Linked DNA regions of Homo sapiens: regions 1, 3 and 4 are each linked to region 2. The links are contacts of gene promoters, found by promoter capture Hi-C in human tissues and cell types (Jung and others, 2019). All regions are on one chromosome and are shown on one strand. Each heading gives the region's core, a stretch centred on a gene start or on the middle of the fragment in contact. The rest is flanking DNA. Distances are from core to core; before and after follow the strand shown. Region 1 overlaps EXT1 (exostosin glycosyltransferase 1). Region 2 holds the start of MED30 (mediator complex subunit 30). Region 3 overlaps EXT1 (exostosin glycosyltransferase 1). Region 4 overlaps EXT1 (exostosin glycosyltransferase 1).

Region 1 (3,227 bases), core at 125-2,624, 380 kb before region 2:
ACCACTGTGACACCTCTGATTTTGAGGTGGGTCCATGGGAGACAACAGGAAGTTATGGAAAGAGTATACACTTTGGGGTCAAGAAAAATTAAGTAGCCACTCCTGGCTTTGCCTTCTGGACAAATGACTTTATCTTTTATCTATAAAGTGGGTATAACAAGGACAATAATCACTTAGAAAGTATTTTGTGCCATGCCTTATGTTCAATAATATTCTTACCTATGAGGTGGCTTCTTGCATTCAAAGTGGAACAAACTTGAGGCTTAAAAATTCCAGGCGGCTGGGTGCGGTGGTTCACGCCTATAATCCGACCGTTTTGGGAGGCTGAGGAGGGCAGATCGCTTGAGCCCAGGAGTTCAAAACCAGCCTGGGCAACATGGTGAAACCTCGAAACCTCATCTCTACTAAAAATACAAAAATTAGCTGGGCGTGGTTGTACGCGCCTGTAATCCCAGCTACTCGGAAGGCTGAGGCGGGAGAATTGCTTGAACCCAGGAGGCAGAGGTTGAAGTGAACCGAGATCGGGCCGTTGGACTCCAGCCTGGTCGACAGAGCGAGACTCTGTCTCAAAAAAAAAAAAAAAAAAAAAGAGAAAAGAAGCCCGGCAATGGGCTACAAAGACACTCTTGGAAAGTGCTGAATCTGAGATTGAAAACAAGGCCTGCTTTAGATCCAGAGCTCAAGTCCTTAGCCAATATGACCTTTCAGATTGCTACAAGTGTTCATTGAAATAAAGCAGGAACAGTGCCTAGCACAGATTCCAGCACACAGGAGACCTGCAGTAAAGATAAACCCACTTTGGCACTTCCACTCGTGGGGGAGAGCAGTCAGCCCTTAGCTTGTCCCTTAACAGTAAGACTGCCACACCATCTGATGCATGACTACCAGCTCCTTTTGAATCTACTCGGAAGGACAATGTGCACGCTCTGTGCCCTGCTGGATATGGTTTAATTTTCTCATTTCTACAAGCTCTAGGTTACAGGGGATAAAGCCACATGCAGCTAGTATGGACAGAACAACTAGTTCTGGTTGAATTATTCAGTTCTTAACTGGCTGCAGCTTTGGGATCTTAGAAACACAGTCCTTAACCTTGCATTCTTTCCACTTGAAAAATAAAATGTAGGTGCCCAGCAGGGAAATTCCATGGACAGAATAGCTGTCAAGTAGGGGCACTTCTTAGAGCAGGGAGGAAGCTGAGCAAGTGGGGGTGAAGGGAAACATGGAGGCAGAGGCTGGGGGGCTGGGACCCTGGGTGGCAAGAAGCTGAGCACAGATCATCATTCTCCCTTAGGGCTAGAACCTGTGAACCTGAACCCTTCATTGAGGGGCACTGAATTTAGAAGGCAGCTCTTCTGTTTGTCGCTTGTTCTTTCTCTCAATGTAATTAAGAAGACTTTGAAGAAGGAATATTGTGCTAAAGCCTAGATAAGAACCTGTTCTCCATCCACCTCCCCAAATCCCTAAAGCCTTGTTTGATTTTAATATTTTTCTTTTGGATTTCACTTTGCTGCTGTGTGAAGGGGCAGCAGGTGGGGAGGGTAGAGAGGAGGGTTCCTGGGGAAGCAGAAACCCTTATGGAAACCCATTTTTAATCTGGATGATGGCTCGGTAATGTAAGCCGTGAGAGTTGGCAGAGGAGTGAAAACTGTAGGATTAATGGCCTTGGGCCTAATTCCCTGATACCTTTTAAAAGGCCAGCTAACCAGCTGGCTTCCTCCTTTTGCTCCATATACACTCCCTCCTCCCTTATCTTCATTGTTTTTTGCTTTCTTTTTTGGCTGATTTTTAACTCCTTCTCTGAATCTGAAAGAGAGAGTTGTATGTATATGATGATTTGTGTTAAAGATGCTTAGAAATTAATATACTAAAGGAAGCTCGTAATAAAATACAAAAGATGATGATTTGCATTGTAAAGTAATCTGGATTTTTTTGGTGCAAGTTGTCTTTAAATAGAAACTCTTCTTGATTTGTGCATGCATGTGCACACATGCACACACATCCATAGACAGGCATAAGCATGTGTGCCTGAATGTGAGTTTTCAAGTTTAAACCCTTAGAATATGTGTTTTCTGTGTAGGTAGAAATGAAATCCCACAAATGTTATCAATTCTTGTGAGGTTCCAGGTAAAATATACATGCATGACCTTCTCTACGTTTTACAACATTACTGCTTTCCCCAAGTGCCCGTTTATCTGTATTTCAGAAACCCATGTGATCTGTAAATCAGGTAGGCCAATGTGGAATGATATATCTGTGTGCTGGGATCTGCATGTGGGCTGCTGGAAGTTTGAGTTTGCAGGTAATGAGCGTTACTTTGGATGCGAACGGAGGCACTAGGCAGGGAGCAAAAAGGAGGGTAACTTACTCCAGCAAAGGAGGACATGATTAGTGTTTCCAGCATGAAACCTTTGAAGTGGGTCAGCAGGAAAGGAAGAAAAAGCAAAAACATCCAGACATGGGAGAATCAGAACATTTCTTGTTGCCTAGGTTATTCTGGTAGACTTTGAAATGCCAGTCCCTATTAGTTTGGTGGGTAAACATTCTCATTATTTTCTGTAATTGGCATTATTATTGGAAGGTAATTAACGACAGTAACATTTTCGTATAACACTCAGACCTGGATGGGTCTTAATGACTTCCCTTCAGTCTTGCGTGAAGTTGTTTTCTGTTTGATTTTTGAGTGCTTGAAACTACTTAGGGTTCTGGCTGTGAGTGGACTCTGCTGGCCCTGCTATGTTTTATAATATAATTGCATTGACCATGCCTGTCAAATTGTCTTCATTCTTTCTGTCCTAGCCTAATGCCTGGCCAGAACAGGTGCCCAATAAAGTGTAGCAGTTATTGCAGCATTTGTCAACTAAAACATTGAAACCCGTTTATAACTCCTATGGTCATGACTGGTTTATGTCCGTAGACAACGCTTGATATTTTTGGATTGTAGAATGCTTTTACCAAATCAGAGGTAAACCCCACAGAGACCCTATTAGAGCCGAGCCCAAGCAAGCCAGATGTTATCAAATCACTCACTGTAACTTCACAGCCTTCCCTGGTTCACGACCATTTTGATCATGTCATCTAAGATGACATCATGATCGAATTGACAGTGGATTATTAGTTCACCCATCAGAGGTTGTGACAATTTGATACAGCAAACCCAGAAGCTTATAGACATTGTATTTGCCAGTTGATGCTTAATCTAATCAGCCTATTTATATTCAGTGAAACTC
Region 2 (3,134 bases), core at 280-2,779:
TAGGTATGACAGCAAAACCAAAATCTATAAAAGAACAAATCAGTAAGCTGGATTCCATCAAAATTTAAAATGTCTGTTCTTCAAAAGACAGTATTAAGAGAATAAAAAGGCAGGATAGACTGGGAGAAGTATTTGGAAAGCATCAAGACATAACAGGTGTTGATGAGGATGAGGAGAAACTAGAACCCTCAAACAGCAATGTTTACATTCCCACTAGCAATAATCGGGACGTAAAATGGCTCAGGCCACTTTGGAAAAGTTTCTTAAAGTATTAAACAGACATGTACTGCATGATCCAGCAATTCCACTCCTGAATCTGTCCAAGAGAAATGACACATACGTTCACACAAAAATTTGTCAGCAAAAGTTCATAGCAGCATTATTTACAACAGCCAAAAAGTGGAAACAACCCAAATGTCCATCAACAGAAGAAAAGGTAGGCAAATGGTGATACATGGATACAATGGAACATTACTCAGCAATAAAAAGGAAATTATTGATGCATTCTTAGTGAAGGATCTCAGACAAAAAAAAAAGCCCACATACTGTAGACTCCGTTTATATAAAACCCTAGCAAATGCAAATTAATTTATGATTACAGAACGCAGATCAATGGTTGCTTAGCGATGGAAGGTGGGAAGCAAAGATGTCAGAGGGGTATGAAGAAACTTTCTGGGATGATGTGTACACTATTTTGATTGTGGTGATAATTTCACAAGTATACAGACTACAGTACACATATATATCAAAACTTTAGGTGAGTGTAGTTTACTGTATATTAACTATGCCAAAAAAAGGAGGACTGTTTTTTTAAAAAAAATGTAAATTCTTCAACTCCTTGGACCTCCCCAGAAGAAATGCTGGAAAAAACATTTAAAGCAACCTAAAGAGGGAAGTGGAGTGCGACCCATCTCTGCCTTGAAAGGTGCAAGAGTTTACAGAGTAACTAAAGAGCTCGATTGAATCTAAAAAAAATTGGCTTCAATTCTGCAGAAATCTGGTCTGGAAAACATCACCTCTACAAATCCGACTTTTGGGGACACTCTTGAGTGTGAATGGGGGAGACCCTACACCTAAGGTTTGCCCAGGGCAGCCCCGATGACATCCACGGGCCCCACGTAAAGAGGAAACCAGAGGCCCTTTCCCTCCCAGCTGCATCCCCCTGGCCTCGCGCGCCCGCCTTCCTACCTGCATGTTCCTCAGGAGCTGGAAGATCTCCATGGTGCGGTACACGATGTCCTGCACTGTCTCCTGCCCGATGCGGCACAGCGACGCCGTGTTGACTTCCCGGGCGGCCTGCTGAGCCTGGGGCCCGGCGAAGGGCCCGGGCGCCATCCCCGACGCGGCCAACGGAGGGGTGGACATGGCGCGGCTGCAGCTTCAGGCCGGAAGGGGCCAGACAGCAGGTGTCAGGGGTCTGCCCGGAATTGGGAGGCTGTGGGGCCTCAGCGTTGGAACCAGCTTGAGAGACCCCCCGCGGCCCGATTTCAAAACAGCGGCCGCGACTTCCGCCCACTGTGACGTAACACGTCAGAAAACGTCATAGACACCGCCCACTCGGCGAACTGTCTCCGAGCGGAGCCGGGCTGGATTGGATTGGACCCCTGGGCGGGAAAGGACGGACGGGTTAAGTAGCCAATCACCAATTGCGCTCCAGCCAGAGGGGCGATGTTCTTGGGGAGCCTGGGGTGAGTTCCCAGAGTTCGTTTCCCAGTCTTGGCTCAGCGTTAGAACCTTCTGTGTTTAGTTCCTTGCGGAGCATTTTCTCTTAACAAGCCTGAGGTTTGTAGTATAACAGCTAAGAGACAGGTTAAAGTACTTGTTGAGTCGCATACAGGTGTAACTGGCAACCTGCGATTCGAATTCAGAAAACAAGATTCCTAAGCTTGTACGCTTCTCTGTGACATGATACGGACTCCCCGATTGCTCTTGGTCCCTGCTCAGATGTTTTATTCTTTGAGTTTTCCCAGTATCTGTAAGCAAAAAAAATGATCAACACACACACTTCTTTCTGACTCTGGCTCTTATTAGTGTCTGATTTTTTTTTCTTTTTCTTTTTGAGATGGAGTCTCGCTCTGTCACCCAGGCTGGAGTGCAGTGGCGCGACCTCGGCTCACTGCAAGCTCCGCCTCCCGGGTTCACACCATTCTCCAGCCTCGGCCTCCCGAGTAGCTGGGACTACAGGCGCCCGCCACCACGCCCGACAAATTTTTTGTATTTTTAGTAGAGACGGGGTTTCACCGTGTTAGCCGGGATGGTCTCGATCTCCTGACCTCGTGATCCGCCCGCCTCGGCCTCCCAAAGTGCTGGGATTACAGGCATAAGCCACCGCGCCCGGCCTACTGTCTGATATTTTATATAGCTTTCAGTTTGTTTACTTTCAGACTTTATCTCACCCTATCTACACACACTGCCAACTCCATGAAAACAGACTATTTTATTCACTTATTCTCAACACCTAGTGATTGGCACAAGTATCAATAAATACTTATTGAATGATTGTTGAGTGACATGATAAATGCAAGAGAAATTAAAATGTCTCTCACAATGTCTCTCACTTACTGTTCATCTCCAAAGTGGGGAAAAGTGAAGAATGTAAAATTAGTGATAGGCACAAACATTGCATTTTTTAGAAGTATCTGAATGCTCCATTGTACGGACTTTCCAGGAAATAGTTACTAAATATGTCATAGGAACCCTGGTAGAGATTTTAAACATAGTAATTCGCAGGTCTTCGGTAATTACCATTCGACAAATATTGGCTGAGCACCTATTATGTGCTGGGTGCTAGGAGTGAAGATAGCGTACTGAACAAACCAGGCAAAAGCCCTGCAGCATGTTTGTCATGGGGACAAACAGAACACTATTGTGATGAGCGTCTTGAAGCAAAAGTTCCTGATATCAGGGTGCTAACAATTTAGGAGATTGAGAACGACCTGAAGGGAGCAGTGTGGAACCTGAAGGTGGATAGGGAAGGGAGTAACGAATGATAGAGTCTTTTCTATGAGGACGAGGAAGGCCAGTGCCAACACCTGAAGTGAAGAGGCCTCCTAATGCTTTCTAGGATCTGGAAGAAGTTCAGTGTGAGGACGAGTGTTAGGAAATAAGGCTGAAGACAGAGGCAACCCTGGAGG
Region 3 (3,263 bases), core at 259-2,758, 420 kb before region 2:
AAATTGGATATGGACTATTTTGCTTTATTATAAATGTGAGTAGCAACAAGATTCTTTGTATTCAAAAAGACGTTTGAGAGTTTCTAGCCCAATGGCTTCATGTGCCAATAATCTATGGGTCCAAGAAGCTCTGTATTTCCCCAGGATCACTTTGACTGCTACGTGTCAGGGCTGGGAGTAGACCCTGGGCCATCCAATTTATTCAACTTGTAGAATTAGGATCATAGCGTTAGTATATATCAAGTGTAATTTTCATTACATATGAATGTTTAAAAAAACATTCAACAGAACTTGTTGGATATTTGAGTATAATCTTCTTTTTCTTTTTCTTTCGTTTTTTGGAGACCGAATTTCGCTCTTGTTGCTCAGACTGGAGTGCAATGGCATGATCTCAGCTCACCGCAACCTCCACCTCCCAGGTTCAAGCGATTCTCCTGCCTCAGCCTCCCGAGTAGCTGGGATTACAGGCGTGCACCACCATGCCTGGCTAATTTTGTATTTTTAGTAGAGATGGGCTTTCTCCATGTTGGTCAGTCTGGTCTGGAACTCCCGACCTCAGGTGATCTGCCCACCTCGGCCTCCCAAAGTCCTAGGTTTATAGGCATGAGCCACCGCACCCGTCCTTGAGTATAATTTTCTTATCATTTACTCCTACCAGCCTCTGTGCTAGGTTCTGGGGGTATAAAGACAGGGGCCAGGTCTGCCTTTCCCCTACATTATTACAGTCTCATAAGGAAGAAACCCAGAGGAGTGATGATAAATGTATGCCTCAAGTATGTAGTATATAGGTGGTGCAGTTGTGGTCTGTGCACACAGGTACAATGAGGATGCAGCAAAAGGTCTGATTCATTTGGGTTACAGACTTAATAGAAGGAATGAAGCTTGAGCTGAGTTTAAAGAGTAGAAGAATTGGATTTTAATATATGGATGGGTCCTCCATGTTAAAATTAATGAGGTTGGACATTACTGAGGCTAAGACGGTAGCAGCAGGTGATGGGAAGGTCATCAGTGTTGGGGCCCATTAGACCTATAACTCCTTGAACAACTTACTTTGATCCTCAGTTGTCCCATCTGAAAATAGGATGATACTGTGCATTCCACTTGTAGAACTAGGATTGTAGCATTAGCACAGGCAGTGACAGTCATGGCATTCACAGTGTGGAGTGACACAGCAAGAGGGGTGAGGCTGCCCAGCCATTTGTACGTTTTGCCTGTAGGTCTTAAACTGGATGGCAGGAGGCTTGAAGTTGTGATTTCTACCTCATGTTTTCATTATAAAATGAGTGGTCACTTGAAGAAAAGTGACAGTGAGTTTTGTGTTTGAAACTTTTAGAAGGATCCATTCTGGAATAACCAAAGATTTAACATGAGGGTGTGCCATGTATATGAACAGAGCTCTTCTGTGCCAGGTCTCTTAAGAAGGCTGGATGTGGTTTGGGCTGAAAAAATGATCACTCACCATCAACCCTTTCTGCGCTGTGTGTGGCGAATGCCTGGGTTTGCCTTCCTGACTACTTTGCAAAGTGTGTTGCTTTTTCTGCCTCTGTTGAATTTACCCTTTTTCCAGGTTCCACTCTCACTACCCTAGATCCAGCCTTACTGGAGGCTGCACAGACCACCAGCTTTCTGAACTATGGGCCTAGCCTATTCCCCCCTCCATATGTTATAGTAGCAAAGTCCCTGCTTTAAAATTTTGCAGCTTAGGAACTCTGATTTTCTTATCTTCCTCTAACTGTCCAGTGGCTGTGTATTTCCTGCATAATAAAGATCTGAACATCTTACCATGATACGTGGTAGAGCTGCCGGCATTCATCAGATATTCATGCCTGGATTGCCTGCACATGACAATCTCCCTACTTTGGTTGCTGCTCCCCCACTTGCCTCTGACTTAGGTAGGGTTCCCTAGAGGAGTCCCGAGACGGGGTTTCTCATGCAAGTGACTTATTGAGAGAATTATTTCTTTGTAGAAGCCAGTAAAGGAATGTGAGAAGCAGGATGGGGCAGGGCAGGAAGCTGGGGAAGGATGTGGGTCTAGTTGAAGTCCAACCTCCGCCTTAACCCCTGGGGAATCTGTAGCATGAATGGCATGTATGGCCCCATGGAGACCCCCATATCAGTCAGTAACTAACTGGCTGTAGGCTGCCTTTGGGTGGGGGTAGGTAATTACCCAGGCATTTCCCCTGCAAGATCCCAGCAGCCTAGGGGTGACTGCACTGACCAATAAAAGGAATACACGCAGGATGCCAGCAGCTTCCATTGTACCCACAGGTCAAACTCCTACTGATCCTTCAAGACCCAGACAGATTTCAATTTTGTAAAGTTTTTCCCAGACCAGAAATTCTCATTCTGAACTAATGATGTTACCATCTCCCGAGTCTTCTTATGCCTCATTCTAGGCCTTATCAAGATCACCTTGTATCACTGTGGATTGGCTTAATGTCTGGCTTCCTGCTAGACTAATGAGTTTCTTGAGGGTGCAGCGTGTTTTAATTCACCTTTAAATAGCTACTCCCCAGACCCCAGGGCTGTCCCTGTGTAGCTATTTAGTAAAGGTCGTTTGAATTGAAATGAGCTGTAACATCCTTCCTTGATGCCTAGTGCTTTTAGCCCTGTGGGAATGTTTCTTCAAGCCTTCCAGATACGGGGGGCTCTTCCAGGAATGCTAGCTCAGCTTGCCACTCTTTCCACCCCAGGATTCCATAGCCATTGAGATTATACCACAGGTTCCCTGTGCCAGCATTTTCTTCCACCTGCTCCCCTGGATGTCAGTCTACATCATCTCACCAGTCGGCCTATGTCATCTCACTAGTCAGCCTGGGCAGGTAGCCTGCTGTCATCTGCTGTCCACATGGGCTGGGCCCTAGGGTAGATGGCTTGAAACAAGTATTACTTCTTGGATGACATTCTGGCTGCCACTCAGAATCTGACAGTTGGTAAATCTTGGCCTGTGCTATTGAATGCCATGACTTATTGGTGTAATGGTGAAAATTGTTCAGAGGAAGACTGGGACATCCATGGTGGACCCAAGAATCATGTCAGGGGATGGAAAAGGGCCACCATGTCCTAGTTTGGTCTAGAACTAGATTCTGCAAGTTACAGTCACAATCCAATAGCCAAATAGAAGCACTCATTCATTCATTCATTTTCTCAACAATCTTCTGTTTCTTCTTTTCTATTTATTGTGTGCTGGGTGAGGGCAAAAGTGAATAAGATGTGGTTTTTGCGTTCAAGGAATTGACAAGGGAAGGAGATGAGATTGAGAC
Region 4 (3,657 bases), core at 570-3,069, 450 kb before region 2:
AGCCACCGCACCCGGTCTTCTGTGTTATTAACAGCACTTTTGGTGATCTTGAATGCATTGGCATATAACTAAAAAATTTCCTTTTGGAAAAATGTCAAGAAAGGGGATACCATTTGCAAAGAGTTCAACCCAGATGATGATTAAGCATCTATAATTTACGTGACCACAATTAATTCATGGAGTGGGTTTTTTGGTGGAGAGCAGGGGTGCTGAGCATTCTTTAGCCCTTCATCGCCAATATTAATTTGAATGGCTTCTGTACCTCCTTGTAATTGAATTATTAATAATCACAAAGAGCTTATAAACTTCGAATTTAATCTTCATTAATATATAAAGCTCAAAGAGTAATGTCTTTTGACCATGAGTAGACTGCTTCTCTAATTTATCTTCAAAGTTGCTTTTTTTTCTTCCTGTAAGTTTCTGTAGTCCCCTTGACTCCTAAAAGTGAGTGTCATGGAGTGGCTTTGATCAGGGAACATACATCAGTAACTGTTTTGTGACCTTAGTCCCGGCTGTGTTTTATGGCTTGGCCAAAGTTTATCATATAATTTCCACTTTAGGAATTTGCCCACTTACTAAGGCTTTGAGGGCAGGGGAGGTGAAGTAGTATTGTGGGAGAGGAGTAATAAATGTGTTTTCTTTTCAGTTTCTACAGTGAGTGGTCTGTTTTGAAATGAGTGCAGGTGGTTGCAGTCCACTCCCTCCCCAAACAGGACAAATTAAGATCATTTTGCTCTTTCGGGAAGCTGAGGGCAAGCCTGCACAGGTGAGGTCACGAGAGGCAAGCTATGTGCACACCTGGTGTCCTCGTGCTTCTTGGGCAGGCCAGCTCCATGCAGTGCAGTGCCCCTGAAGGGAATGGGGCCAGGAGAAGACATAACAGGGCATGAGGATCTTCTCTGTGCCAAGAATCATGCTAGGTAACCCCCCTGAGATTTCTCATCCTCTTGAGAATCCTGTGAGATGATCCTGCTGCCCTTATTTTTCCAGATGGAAAAACGGATTACCCAGGATTCACCGCTTGTGAGTGGCAGAAAGTGGCAGCATTAGAACTGCTGCACTCCATGGATACATCCAGCACATGTGCTCTCCTCTAGTGTGTGATTCCGGTTCATTTAAGTCAGATTTTGGATTCCACTCAATGAAGTTTGTAACTGCTAAGTTGTGATGTGAGCACTTAGATCACCAAGAATTTCAACTAACCCACTATGCTCAAAGTGTGGTCCATGGACCAAGTACCTTGGAATCCCTTGAAAGCCCCTGTTGAAAATTCAGATTCCTGGCCGGGCATGGTGGCTCACGCCTGTAATCCCAGCATTTTGGGAGGCTGAGGCAGGCAGATCACAAGGTCAGGAGTTTGAGACCAGCCTGACCAATATGATGAAACCCCATCTCTACTAAAAATACCAAAAAAAATTAGCCAGGCATGGTGGTACACACCTGTAATCCCAACTAATCAAGAGGCTGAGGCAGGAGAATCACTTAAACCTGGGAGGCGGAGTTGCAGTGAGCTGAGATCACGCCACTGCACTCCAGCCTGTGTGACAGAGTGAGACTCCGTGTCAAAAAAAAAAAAAAAAATGTAGATTCCTGAGCCCTGCCTCAAACCAATTAGGTCAGAAGTTCTGGGGGTACAGCCCAGGTGTAGGTTCTCTGGGAGAGTCTGTCATGCACTAAAATTTGAGAGTCATGCCATAAAACCTCTTTATAGTGCTCCAGTATAAAAAAGATCTTGGGGTTAAGCTTAGCTAAACAAATACGTCTGCAGGCTGGCAGTTCATGAATTCCACCTAAAGACTATCTGGTTTATCCCTCATTTTACACAAAAGGAAACTGTGGTTTAGAGGGTTGAAGTAACATGTTAAAATTCTCATGGCTTTTTTGTGGTAGAGCAGACACTAGAATCAGTTCTCCTTCCTCCGGTCCATAGCTGGCTGCTTCTAATCTTTTAAAAATCAGCTAATCAAGGTAACTTGGATCCATTTCAATCCTGTCAGTGACCCTACGTTCAATATAAAAGATGAGTCCTGGGAGAACTGCCGTTCTGATTCACATTCATCTGAATGTTGAAAAAGTGCATTTCTTCAGAGTGCTCTGTAGGAGGTGGAAATATTCAATAAGCTTGCGAGAAAGGTTTCCATCTCAACCACACCATGTGTGCATGTGCATGCACATACACGCGTGCGCGCGCACACACACACACCACTGCCACCACCACATAGCTCAGATCTGTCACAACATGAGGGAGGGGACTCGCAAACATGCATAATTTATGCAGGATTTTCACGGATTTTTCAGTATTTGGAAGTGATTTCTTAAATTATACATTGAAACAGCTCCATAAAGATGAAGCTGGAGTTAGTTTCACAATAGCCTTAAAAGTGAGAGAATTTGCGTCTCTGGGATCAATGTGCATATTTCAAAGTGAGACGTTTCACTTTATAGAATTTAGAGGGTCTCAAGGCTGTGGTTGACATTTTTAGTTTGTTGGGCTAAACAACCATTTGCTATACAATACTATGGAAACGAATGGTGGAAGAGATTGCCCTGGAAAACTCTGTTCAATTCCGTTAAGAAATATTAAATTCCTGAGGACAATCTACTTGTTTATTATTTTCAATTTCTCTTAAAATAGTATAAAAGGATCTTCTTGGGTGGCAGTACAGGGATGACAAGGAAGGGACCAAATCTCAGTTGTTCACATTTTTACTTAGTTTGGATTCCAAATAATGGGGCTTCTCATAAAAGATTTGGACCCTGCCCCGAGGCTTTTGGTAATAAATGTGGCCGCTTTGTTTTTTTCCCTAATTATTTCATTCGTAAAAGTCTTATCTTCCCAATAAAGATGGTAACTCCTCTGGACTGGGTCTGCTTTTCGCATTTTCCTTCTTTTATATACCACCATGGTATAGAACTTATTTTTGCTTAATAAACAGTTTGGACATCAGGAAGAGACAGAGCTGTATACAATAGGTAGTTTACAGTCAAATATTTACTGCTTTAAATAAGGCAGAATTGGCTGGGCACAGTGGCTCACGCCTGTAATCCCAGCACTTTGGGAGGCCGAGGCGGGCGGATCACAAGGTCAGGAGATCGAGACCATCCTGGCTAACCTGGTGAAACCCCGTCTCTACTAAAAATACAAAAAATTAGCCGGGCGTCGTGGTGGGCGCCTATAGTCCCAGCTACTCGGGAGGCTGAGGCAGGAGAATGGCGTGAACCCGGGAGGTGGAGCTTGCAGTGAGCCGAGATCAAGCCACTGCACTCCAGCCTGGGTGACAGAGTGAGACTCCGTCTCAAAAAAAAAAAAAAAAAAAAAAAAAAAAAAAAAATAAATAAATAAATAAATAAATAAATAAGGCAGAATAAGTAGTATTTAATTAGAGCACAGACTTTGTGGTAAGGCAGGCCTGAGTTTGAACCTCAGCTGTGATACTTATTGCCTCATTTGAAAAAAGTAAATTTTGGCCAGGCATGGTGACTCACACCTATAATCCCAGAACTTTAGGAGGCCAAGGAAGGAGGATTGCTTGAGCCCAGGAGTTCAAGACCACCCTGTGCAACACAACGAGACCTTTAAAATTTCAAAAAACTACTAAAAATTTCAAAATAATTAGCTGGGCACGGTGTTGTGTGCCTGTAGTCACAGCTACTGGG

The links. Contacts are between HindIII fragments. The study calls those that stand out against the background at their distance.
Region 1: a fragment that was not itself captured here is called in contact with the fragment with the promoter of MED30 in region 2 in 1 of the 25 tissues and cell types used here (hippocampus).
Region 3: a fragment that was not itself captured here is called in contact with the fragment with the promoter of MED30 in region 2 in 1 of the 25 tissues and cell types used here (H1 embryonic stem cells).
Region 4: a fragment that was not itself captured here is called in contact with the fragment with the promoter of MED30 in region 2 in 1 of the 25 tissues and cell types used here (mesenchymal stem cells).

The regions. Positions count from the first base shown.
Region 1 is chr8:117,894,954-117,898,180 of GRCh38, reverse strand. The region is part of intron 1 of EXT1 (exostosin glycosyltransferase 1); the gene reads left to right. Among named protein-coding and RNA genes, the nearest start is that of SNORD168, 24 kb to the left of the region's middle. The HindIII fragment of the contact is 5,152 bases long and covers 1-3,227 here.
Region 2 is chr8:117,519,108-117,522,241 of GRCh38, reverse strand. MED30 (mediator complex subunit 30) reads right to left here and starts at 1,529. Exons shown (of 4, transcript NM_080651.4): 1 at 1,189-1,529. The coding sequence starts at 1,365. It overlaps LOC105375716 (a long non-coding RNA gene), which reads left to right and starts at 1,522. Exons shown (of 7, transcript XR_928569.3): 1 at 1,522-1,688; 2 at 3,065-3,134. The HindIII fragment of the contact is 5,716 bases long and covers 1-3,134 here.
Region 3 is chr8:117,939,790-117,943,052 of GRCh38, reverse strand. All of the region lies in intron 1 of EXT1 (exostosin glycosyltransferase 1), which reads left to right. Among named protein-coding and RNA genes, the nearest start is that of SNORD168, 21 kb to the right of the region's middle. The HindIII fragment of the contact is 8,665 bases long and covers 1-3,263 here.
Region 4 is chr8:117,968,229-117,971,885 of GRCh38, reverse strand. The region is part of intron 1 of EXT1 (exostosin glycosyltransferase 1); the gene reads left to right. Among named protein-coding and RNA genes, the nearest start is that of SNORD168, 49 kb to the right of the region's middle. RefSeq lists a silencer at 1,842-1,901. The HindIII fragment of the contact is 6,182 bases long and covers 1-3,657 here.